Linked DNA regions of Homo sapiens: all the other regions are linked to region 1. The links are contacts of gene promoters, found by promoter capture Hi-C in human tissues and cell types (Jung and others, 2019). All regions are on one chromosome and are shown on one strand. Each heading gives the region's core, a stretch centred on a gene start or on the middle of the fragment in contact. The rest is flanking DNA. Distances are from core to core; before and after follow the strand shown. Region 1 holds the start of PCNP (PEST proteolytic signal containing nuclear protein). Region 2 overlaps ABI3BP (ABI family member 3 binding protein). Region 3 overlaps ADGRG7 (adhesion G protein-coupled receptor G7). Region 4 overlaps ABI3BP (ABI family member 3 binding protein).

The links. The method cuts DNA at HindIII sites, captures the fragments that hold promoters and counts their contacts. A contact is called where the count stands out against the background at its distance.
Region 2: a fragment that was not itself captured here is called in contact with the fragment with the promoter of PCNP in region 1 in 1 of the 25 tissues and cell types used here (mesenchymal stem cells).
Region 3: a contact is called between a fragment that was not itself captured here and the fragment with the promoter of PCNP in region 1, in 1 of the 25 tissues and cell types used here (small bowel).
Region 4: a fragment that was not itself captured here is called in contact with the fragment with the promoter of PCNP in region 1 in 1 of the 25 tissues and cell types used here (mesenchymal stem cells).

The regions. Positions count from the first base shown.
Region 1 is chr3:101,572,868-101,575,567 of GRCh38, forward strand. PCNP (PEST proteolytic signal containing nuclear protein) reads left to right here and starts at 1,313. Exons shown (of 5, transcript NM_020357.3): 1 at 1,313-1,412. The coding sequence starts at 1,349. RefSeq lists enhancers at 524-1,469, 913-1,182, 1,283-1,412, 1,493-1,652, 1,673-1,832. The HindIII fragment of the contact is 9,941 bases long and covers 1-2,700 here.
Region 2 is chr3:100,815,455-100,818,154 of GRCh38, forward strand. ABI3BP (ABI family member 3 binding protein) reads right to left here. Exons shown (of 68, transcript NM_001375547.2): 42 at 1,982-2,041; 43 at 1,234-1,314; 44 at 458-517. Among named protein-coding and RNA genes, the nearest start is that of TFG, 110 kb to the left of the region's middle. The HindIII fragment of the contact is 3,105 bases long and covers 1-2,700 here.
Region 3 is chr3:100,692,330-100,695,029 of GRCh38, forward strand. ADGRG7 (adhesion G protein-coupled receptor G7) reads left to right here. Exons shown (of 16, transcript NM_032787.3): 16 at 2,415-2,700. The coding sequence ends at 2,672. Among named protein-coding and RNA genes, the nearest start is that of TFG, 16 kb to the right of the region's middle. The HindIII fragment of the contact is 3,606 bases long and covers 1-2,700 here.
Region 4 is chr3:100,756,890-100,759,612 of GRCh38, forward strand. The region is part of intron 63 of ABI3BP (ABI family member 3 binding protein); the gene reads right to left. Among named protein-coding and RNA genes, the nearest start is that of TFG, 49 kb to the left of the region's middle. The HindIII fragment of the contact is 4,852 bases long and covers 1-2,723 here.

The sequences.
Region 1 (2,700 bases), core at 63-2,562:
GGATCAGGGACTTCAACCTAGATCACAAAATCACCACCACACTGCCCTGCTTCTGTCATGGGAAACACACTTTGATAATTTCTTCATTCTTTCTCCACTCCCTGGACTTGAAGCCCGAGAAGTAATCCATCCGCAAATATTGAACACTTTTTATATTCATATATGAAACGCACAGTACACAGTTTTTAAAAACTGGTCTCTGTTGTCAAGGAACTTTTGAGCCATTCAGAGAGACAACACTTAAAACACACACACACACACACACACACACAAACTGAGGGAAGTATGAAGTGACCAAATAATGGTATACAAAGATGATCTCATTTGATCCCTATTACCACTCTTTGAGGAGGTACTATTATTATTGCTCTTTTATAGAGAAGAAAAGGTAGCTCTGTAGGCAGTAAGCAAGTCTCAAGGTTACTCAAGCAGGAAAGGGCAAAACAGATTCAAATCCAAGTTCTGACTCCTAAGACTTTCTCTAACTATATATGGTAAGACAAACCCAGAAACTCCAGTTCCCTAAGCAAGTAATAGACCCCATTTGGCTAGGAGGGCTGGATAAATACTGAGAAAGGGGGAAGATGAAGCCGAAAAGGTAGGCTAGGGCCTAATGTAACTCACGGACTTCAGAATGCAGACTGTAGGAATCCACTAAAGGTTTCTTATTAAGGCAGAAATTACTGCAGTCTTAACTTGACATAGTAGTTTCTCAACTTGGTAGAAGCAGACTATACAAAAAGTAACTTTACAGTTGGCTACGTGACTTAGACAAATTACTCTCTCTGACCTCAACTCTTACAGGTAATTGAGAGGAGAATTCTATATTTGGACAATCGCCGTGATTAAACGAGTGTATGAAAGGCGTCTGAAGCTAGGGGGCGCTAGATAAACACTGATTTCCCCTTTAGGGAAAAAGAATGCAGGCTTTTTGTTTACATAGAGTTGGCAGGCATGCGTTATCCAGCAAGGCCGGAACGGAAGACACTCTCAGCCTCAGCTGCAACCACATCTGGGTATGCAGAAACCTTCTAAGATCCCAGCGTTTCCAGGGAGATGCTCCATTTCCCCTCACTTCTCCGGACCTGTCGCTAGACCATGAAGACCTGACTGCCCTCTAATAAAGTGCCTAGCCAGCACTCTTAGACCGCCCAACCTTCCCAGCTCTTCCTTCCGAGGCGGCTACTCGATGACATCACATCCACTTCCGCTTCCGAAGGCGGCCTCTTTTCATTCCTCGGGACCGCTCTAGGCTGCCACCACGCCGGCTGGCCCCAAAAACTCGATGGTTGTTGGGCGGGGTCGTGACGTCCTTGGCGTGGCTGCAGGGGAGGCCGCGGCGGGGAAAATGGCGGACGGGAAGGCGGGAGACGAGAAGCCTGAAAAGTCGCAGCGAGCTGGAGCCGCCGGAGGTGAACACAACCCCAGCGTCGTGGGCAGCGTGGGATGCTCCGGGCCTTTCTTTGAGCTCCCAGGGTGGGGGGAGTGGGGTGGGGCGAGAATGGGCGGATCTGGACCTCACCCGGCCAGGTGTTGGGCCCAGACCTGCCTCGGGCACGCCCGATGCGGCCCTCTGGGCTCCGGGCCTACATCGCCTCCTTGCCTGGGGAGAGCCGGCCACTGTTCGTCACCTCCTGGCCCCAGCGGAGGCCCTGATTCCGAGGAGAAGGGAGATGGGCGCCAGAAAGGGAGACCGAACTCGGGGTGGGACCAGGAGCGGCGGTGCAGGAGCCGCTACCGCCACACCGGAGACGCACATCACACAAAACACACACACCGGAGACGCTCATGAGACATAACATACACACAGTGCGAGCCACCGAGTAGTTGCCGCGGGAACTGGCCGCAGGCTGAGTTTCTGACGGTGCCGGCCTCTCAGTTACACGCAGGAGTTAATTACGCTTGCTGCTCCCTTTTCACTGAGGAGGTGGACAACTCCGGCCTGCTCTCTTTCCTTTACTTCCAAGTTTAATATTGACCCTGTGACAGGATGGGCCGAGGTGATGGAGGGGAAGAGGAATGCCTTTGCCTGCCCTCTGGTTTAAGCTGCGGGGTCTAGGGCTAAGGTTTGGTTGCTTTTCTTTGAAGTATCTCCCTTAGGCTGTTGCCAGCTGACCGCTTGCCAGATACTTAGGCGACTAAATAGTCTAGCGTGACTCTTCCTGTATTTTGTTACGACGTTAAACTCAGGTTACAGCTATCCTTATTCTGTCCATTCCACTCCCTAAATTCGGGTCTTGTGCGTGAAGGAAAAGAAACGTAATCTCTCCAGCTCCCTCTTTGCACATAACAAGACAAGTGACTTAACACGTGCGAGCTGTTTAAAATGTTTTTAGAACATTTTAAACATTATTCTCTATTCTGACCACCTTAGTTATCATTCCCGAAATTATTTAATATGAGAAAATAGAAACGATTAATAGCATATGAAGGCCACTAGTAGACCTACTAACATAATGTTTCATGTTAATTGCCTTGGGAACAAAAATTATTGAAAAGATTAAGTGTAATGTTAATTACTTTGGACCCAGGATTTCCTTTTTAAAAAACACGTACAATTCTGTTAGTTAAGCTGGAACTCCATCTCTCTCTTCCCTCCCCACCCCCTGTCTTTTTTTTTTTTTATAACTAGTAAAATACCTTATGAAAGAACAATTTAAATTTAAACCATCTACTACTTTCTCACTAGGGAATTTTTTT
Region 2 (2,700 bases), core at 54-2,553, 760 kb before region 1:
GAACTTTCAGGGAAATCTATTTTAATGTAATAGGGACACCTTATTCCTTAAAATAGGAAGAAAATAATGAGACTAAGACACAGGTTTTATAGAAACTAAGTTACTCAAAGGGAGTTCATGGTACTTAATTGTTGCTTTATAGATCTAAATACCAAATGGAAGGGTATTTAGATCTATAAATACTAAATACCAATTTGGACCTCAGATTTAACACTGAATCATATGGTGCAAATTTAAAGAGAGTTTCATGCTGGACAGCTGTCCTTCACTGGGTCCAGGGACATCTGCGAAAAACAACAGGTAACACTTGAATTAAAACTGCTGACTATTTTAAAATGAAGTGTAGAATGGAATAACAGCGTCTTAGGAAGCAGAAGCAACTCTGGTCATGACAGTGCTCAAGTGCGTTTTTAAATGGCAATAAAAAGCATTTAATGCAAGTCACAAAAATCATTACCAAATGTTGTTCCTGGAGCATCAGTACTATGAACAACAGGTTCAAAGCCTGTAACAGAAACTAACCAAAAGCAACAACATGAATACAAGAAAGCTTAAAGACTTTTTAAAAAAAATCCTCAATTTTTATTTTAAAACATGAGTTTCAAATGATACACAATTTTTTAAAACTTTTGAATTGATAGGCAGCATATAGTTGCTTTTGGAAGATTTGGCCACACTAGCTAGAACAATTCATCAAAGAAGGTAGTTACAACCTTTGAACTCTGTTACATATCTTGATATTATCCACATGAGGTTTTCCTAGGTATTTGGTTTTCTAACTAGTATGGATATTTGGCTTTGGAAATTTGTTTAGGCAACAGATACGAAAATACAGAGAGAAATATATATGAAAGTAACTTGTTGCTTTTCTTGGAAGTTGAAAATAAATGCCTGTTTATGTAATCATAACAAATGGATCACATGTTTCAATGCAGATATAGCAATAAATACCCATGAGTATGCTAATCTCGCTGTAAACACATCTTTAAAGAGGGACCAAGAACGTCATCCAAACCAAGTCATTTAGGAGATCAGGCACACAAGTGGCTCCAAGCCATGTTCTCCTGGATAGCTCTGTACGAGAAGCAGTTGCTACCCATGTTAAATAATTTGATTCTTAGAAAACATGATGACTGTTACTTCCCGTCATAGGCATTTCTTTAGGACTTTATTGGGACAGCCTGCCAGGGTTCAGGTTCCTTGGCTACTTAAGCCAAGGATTCATACATTTACCCGATTTGTTCTGAGGTACTTCAGGACTTGATGTAGTTTTGGGTCTGGGACGGGGACGACGTGTCCGTTGTGTTTTAGGAGCTGAAGGAAGAAACTTTGGATTACTCTAGTGCAGGTGGCTTTGGAGACAAAACTTTAGGTTTTTAAAGGTATGTCATATTTCCTTGAGATTTAAGTCATATGTCTTTTAAGATTAAAATATTTTCTATTTTGTTAATTTTCTTAATCACTGAAGATTCTTGAGAGAGAAAACTTACATATAAAATCAAGTTGAAAAGTGAAGAGACTCATACATCTTTAACTTCAGAAACACTAGAGCCAAACTCTGGATGATAGAGTCTCAGGCTCACACTAAATCTTTTGAGTATGCCAAAGAATCCATGATACCATAAGAACTGTTAGAGTTTAGTCAGTTTAGATATGATATAGCCACCAGCAACTGTGTTTGAAATTTAGCTTCAGACATGAGTGACATGAATGCTGTTTAGACAAAAGTACATGACACAAATTCAAATAAGATTACATGGTAGACTCTGAACTAGGTCCATGCATAGCTTTTGAAAATAATAGGTAACTTCTAAGGATCACTAATACTCAAATATAAAGTTGAAGGACAATATAAAGTTGAAGGATAGCAGAAGATGACAAGATAGTCCTACAAAGCTGATGACAATGTGATTATGATAATGATGGAATGGATTTGAAAATAAGGAGGAAAAAGTTATTCAGGAACACAGAATATCATTACCTAACGTTGTTTCTGGAAACTTGGTTCTAAAAGTGTCAGGTTCAAGGACTGTAGTAACAACTAGACAAAAATAATAAAATAAAGCAAAAAGATTTAACTTGAATATTAATTTCACAGTTCAATTTTTAAGCTTCAGAACTTAAAAGTAAGGCTTGTTTTTTGCAGATTTGGCCAAACCATGGTCAGGTACCCATTAGTCTCATAAGACAGATTTGCAAGACAGCATTGCACTCAGCTTAATATCACTATGTGGTCAACAAAACATTCTCCTAGATGTTTGATTATCTGATTCTTGCTACACATTAGTGGAAGATTGTTGGACAAGCTTTTTACACATTTGCATAATATATGCTTTTCTAACTGTATTGAAAAAGGCGTTTATCAGTCTACTTGCACTTCTATAGAAGTTGGGATAAATATCTTGTTAACTACTGTCTAAGTAACTATGGATACAATAAAGAGTTCATATGTATGAAAGCATAAAGAACACCATGTAATTAATAAACTGTGCTTATCAAAATCTCAAAGTATTCCTTGATTCAGTAAAAGTTAAGAAACTGTTAAATCTTAATAGAGATGAATAAAGAGTCAGTCTATCCTATTATGGAAGCCTCTCATTAAAACTTTCAAGACTTACGTACATTTTACAATTTGACAATTTACTAAAAACATCATTCCTTGAAACAAAAAAATCAATGTTACACAGATCCTAATAAAAT
Region 3 (2,700 bases), core at 92-2,591, 880 kb before region 1:
ATCAAATGGAAACTCCTAGAAGATCAATAAGTAGGGTAAGCCTCATCTGACATTGCCAATTGATCCATGGGCTTGTTGCCCAGAGTGAGCAGGAATTTAGGGAGGAATCTGAATGAAGGCACAGTCAAGGATTTTCTCTTCTCCATGCATAGGAGGGGGAAATTATAAAAGAGAGGTTCGTAACAAAGTGTTAATGGTAAAATGGTAAAAACTGTTAATGGTAAAATGATAAAAATTACAACATGGTAAAATTGAGTATCGCAATGTGGCAAGGACATGGAGCTAAAAGTCAGGAAACTTAGGCTGTTATTCAGCTTTACCATTGATTCCTATGATTATAGGAAAATCACATAACCTCTGTGGGTGAGGTATGCAAAATATAAAATGGAGTAGTGGGGCAATATGTGTGTTAAAATCAACACAGTGTTTTGTAAAATGGATCTGAATATTGCTTACATCAGAACTTACATAGTATGTTAAAATGCTGATTCCTGGGCCTCACCCCTTACCTACTCAACCAGAATCTACAGGCATAGGAGCTGAGACTCTTCATTTTAAACAAGGACCTCAGGTGATTTCTATGTACACTAAAGTGTAGGAATATCTAGATTTGTTTACACGTGAAACTTCTAGATTTAGAATACTATAATTCTAATAAACATTTACTAAATGCTACAGATATTACTTAGAAGGCACAATTTGAACTTTGTGTTACTGGTAGTCAGTCTGACCCACACATTTTTTCTTTTCAAATAACATTTTTGGGCTTTTAGGAAGCACAGAAATATTGGGAGTCCACCCAAACAGGTCCAACAGGATGGTGTTTTTATGAATTATCCATGGTCTAGGGTCTTTTCCTAATTATTGTACCAACAGAAATTTGATCAAATCTTAGTTTACTTTAGAATTTAAATTCTGGAAAAATCAGATGAAATAGTGTATGCCACAAAAAAGATGGTTTTCTAGAGACTGGATTTCTCATGTGCCCCAAATAAATTTCTCTCCCTTGAACAATCAGGATGGCCAATGACCACTCCTGTCCTTCTGAAACCTGTGTCTCCAAGCACACACTGTCATAGGGCCTTTCTTCTGATGTGTTAGATACCACCTGTTGAGTAATAATCAAGCTACTTTTTCTACTTTTGGCCAGAGAACAAGTCTGTCTCTTGCCAACACTTATTGATTTTTTAGTCAAACTATAAGGGTCTTTCCAGAGTACCAGAAGTCTCCAATAACAGTACTCACAGGATATGATTCCAAAAATAAACTCTTAAAAAGGTTGGGGCCCTATAGATGCTAATGTGGGAGACATCCAAGGATATTTATTTTTAAAAATACCTTTTCATTTTGAAATGATTTAATAAAAAATTTTGGAAAAATAGTATAGCTCCCACATATTCTTTGTCCAGCTTTCCCAAATGATAATATCTTATACAGCCATAGTATACTGTCAAAATCAAGAAACTGACATTGGCACAATATTATCAACTTAACTACAGATGCTATTTCATCTGTCATTTCCACAAAGGATATTAATAAAGAATTAACAGCAGCATCTTAAAAGCTATGATACACTTTGCAGTCACTTTCTGTTACAGTTACAGGCAACAGTATAGGCAGCACCGTATATTGGATAGAGGAGGGGTTTTGGAGCTAAAGATGTAAGAATTCAATTCCAGACTCCACTGAGTACTGGTTGGGTGATCGTGGACAAACTACTTAGTTTATCTGAACTTTAGTTTCCTTATCTGAAACATGCGGATGATAAAGCTTGTTGTATTGGGTTGATGTGAGGATTACATGAGAATGATCAAATGATGAGGATTAAGTGAAAAGCAAGGGTCTGATACTGATATGACTTCTATAAATGGCAGTTTTTACTGGAAACATATAGAAAATATTATTCAGTGTTTTGTGGCTCAATTTCTCATGTACATCTGGTCTTCATCTGTGAAGTACAGAAAAGCAGTGACTAGAAGGGCTTTACATTTTTTTGTCCTTAAGTGCACAAATTTCTAGCTATGTTACTATAACTCCAAGAAATATGGAAGCACAGAATGTTAGAACTGGGAGAAGAATTAGGTATTTCATAGTTAATCTTCTTCCTTCAGGAAGTTGAAGATTATCAAGATTATGAAATAAGCAAATTTACACAGCCAGCTAGTGGCAACCCAGGACCTGAACTCGGGTCTTCTATATCTGCTATTGTACTGTTACATGTAGGTCTTTGTATATGGGAAAACTTTGCCTCAACCCTCTTAGATTAAAAAGTGCATGGCAGCTGCACACTGGCAAATTCAAGTTGGGGAAGTGCCGTGCAGATGAGAAGGTTGGGTGGCAGAGTGAAATAAAATGTCTTCCTTGATACTGTATCTCAGCACTTACCCAACATTAAACTTTTGTTCTATCTGCAGGGATTGCAAATTTTTATCCTGTACACTGTTAGAACAAAAGTCTTCCAGAGTGAAGCTTCCAAAGTGTTGATGTTGCTATCGTCTATTGGGAGAAGGAAGTCATTGCCTTCAGTGACGCGGCCGAGGCTGCGTGTAAAGATGTATAATTTCCTCAGGTCATTGCCAACCTTACATGAACGCTTTAGGCTACTGGAAACCTCTCCGAGTACTGAGGAAATCACACTCTCTGAAAGTGACAATGCAAAGGAAAGCATCTAGACAGTAAAACTTACCTGTTGTGGTCTTT
Region 4 (2,723 bases), core at 72-2,571, 820 kb before region 1:
TGATTAAACCCTATATAACAAAAATTATTTGTGTTGGTAAAATTTTTTCTGAAGAAGCACATTTTGTCACAGATGAATGACATCATAGGTCTAAGAGAAATGTCTCAATATTGATTGTACATAGAAAATAAAATTTAAAGTTTCAGGAAACAGTTATTTGAAGTAAGAAACTTCAAATAGAAGTTTTGGAAGATAAAGTTGAGGACATTTCACAAATACTAGAACAAAAAGTCAAAGAGATGAAAAAATGAGAGAAAAGAAAGTTGGAGAATTATTCCAGAGAATATGGTACCCAACTAGTAGGAATTGTAGAAGAAAGAAAGGAAAGGAGATAGAAAATTATCCTAGAAACTTTGTAATAAATTTCCCAGTACTGAAAGACAAGAGTTTCCAGATTGAAAAGACCTACTCTGCCCAGCAAAATGAATAAAAGAAAAAGGACTAAAACATGAGTTACAAAATTTCAGAGTACTGGGGTGATAAAGACAAGTCCTCAAAACTGAGAAGAAAATAGGTCCCGTTCAAGGGATCCAGAATCAGGATGACATTTGACTTTTTAACAGTAACACTGGAAGTTAGAAAATAGAACAATTCCTTCAAAAGTCTTCATTATATCCTAATATGTCCAGCTAAAGAATAGTATCAAAGTAAAACAACTTTTAAAACATGTGAGGACTCAAAAATATTGCCTTTTATAACTTTTCCTCAAGATTTATTTCTTTAGTGCTACAAAGTAATGGAGTAAACAAGGAAGAAGTCTTGTGATGCAGGAATTGGGATTCAAAACAGAGGCAAAGGATGTATAGGAATTCCAAAAGAGATGTTGCCATTAAAAACATACAACAAATAGAACAAAGAAATGACTGGAGTATTTGAGCATCTTGTGAAAAGGTCAGTCTAGACATAGGGATTTAATTGACAGAAGTAATGGACAAAATGGTAAAAAAAAAATTTGCATCTGGGGAACCAAATTTAGCAACAGGGAGGAGATGCTTTTGTGATAATTTAATTTTAAAACTGTACATATATTTCTGATGAAAATTAAAGAACTATAAGACCTACCACATCAAAATGAATATCTAAATGGAATGCAGTCCAGATGACAAATGCTGTCAAGCCTTTTGGCCCCATCTAGGACAAGCCAGGTAAATAAAGCCTCACAGAATGCCATGCCTGATTCTACCTGGGTAGGTGTAAATCCCCTCCAAAAACAAACAAACAAAAAAAAAACAATCTTCCCCGCGCATCCCCATCAGGAGGCAGCATGATCCAGGGGGCGTTAAAAACATGGGTTCTAGAACCAGAAAGATTCACAGCTCACTAATGTGTGACTTTAAGGTAACTTAACCTCTCTGAGCTTCAGTTTACTCTTACATAAAAATGAGGATAATGCTATTTGTGAGGATACTATTCGTTATAGTAATTATAACTTCACGGGGGCTATAAAAGCATCTGTGAGGATTAAATGAGAATGCATGTAAAAGCAAGGTGCTTGACACATAGTAATAAGTATTCACTAGTATCATATTTGTATCTCTAGATAATTTTTTTTAAAGAGTTTCTGTTATTGGGGAATTTGACAAACACTGCCATAGAACTCTCAAGGCAGAACTCTTCTATGGCCACACACTTGCTTTTTGCTTGTGAAGTTTATAAGAAGGGTATAGCCCACGGGTTATTGGAAAGATCGAAAATTTAACAGGTAAACCTTTCTGCCTGCCATCAACATAGATCCACAGGCTAAGAAAAAAATGTTATATTAATATTTCATTGAGTCTAGAAAGCACTAAAAAGCATTATCTCAGAAGAGTGGCATAATAGAGGGTATTGTTTGACACCAACAGTTTGAGAGCAGCTGTAAAAATCAGCATGAGAACAAAAAAACATAGATCAGTTCATTGAAAAGTGAAAAACTAGGATTTCAAAAAGTGTGACCTGTGGCTCATGAGCAAAACTGTTAAGAGACAAGAACCTCCAACCTGTAGGCTTCTAGCCTGAGACTGATTTCTTCTTTAGTGGAAGAGGTAATATCCTCAAGCATAACCTTCAGATCTGGATGGAGCAGATGCTTGCCATTCCCTACCCCGTTTTGATCCTTTCTATAATCTTTTCCTTCTATTTTTTGCCTACAATTTAGAACTGAAGTAAAGTTTTCATTATTTAATAAACTTTTTAGTTACATACTCCTTACTGATTTAAAAAGTTGGTTTTCATTCTAACAAAAGTCTTACAAATCTCAAGCAAACTGTTTTTTATATAGAAAGTCTACCCTATAGCTGTTGGTTTGAGTTGTTCAGCCGAGTTTTACCCCTAGTGTAGTCGTGAAATATTTGATCCCCATTCAGGTGAAGGTTCAGAGGGAGATAAATGGACAAGTAGAATAAGAAAAAAAGAGGAAGGACTGCTCAACATGGGAAAGGAGAATCTAATCAGTTTGGGTAAGCTTGACTGCAAGGACACTGAAGGATTATGGTAAGCATTTCTGGATACCTGCCACATGTAAAGTTATTATGCTGATCTGGGAACACAGATAAGGAGCAAGAGGGGAGAGCCAAGGGGGCACTCAGAAGACAAAATAAGGCTAAATCAGGGTATCAGTAGTCGTGGGGTCATAAACTAGCTGGCTCTTATGCCATAAGGGGCATTTTTTTGTGTTCCCCCACTTCTGTGGGGACACAAATTCCAGAGTTGGGCTGTACTCTAATTCTGTGGTACTGTTATCA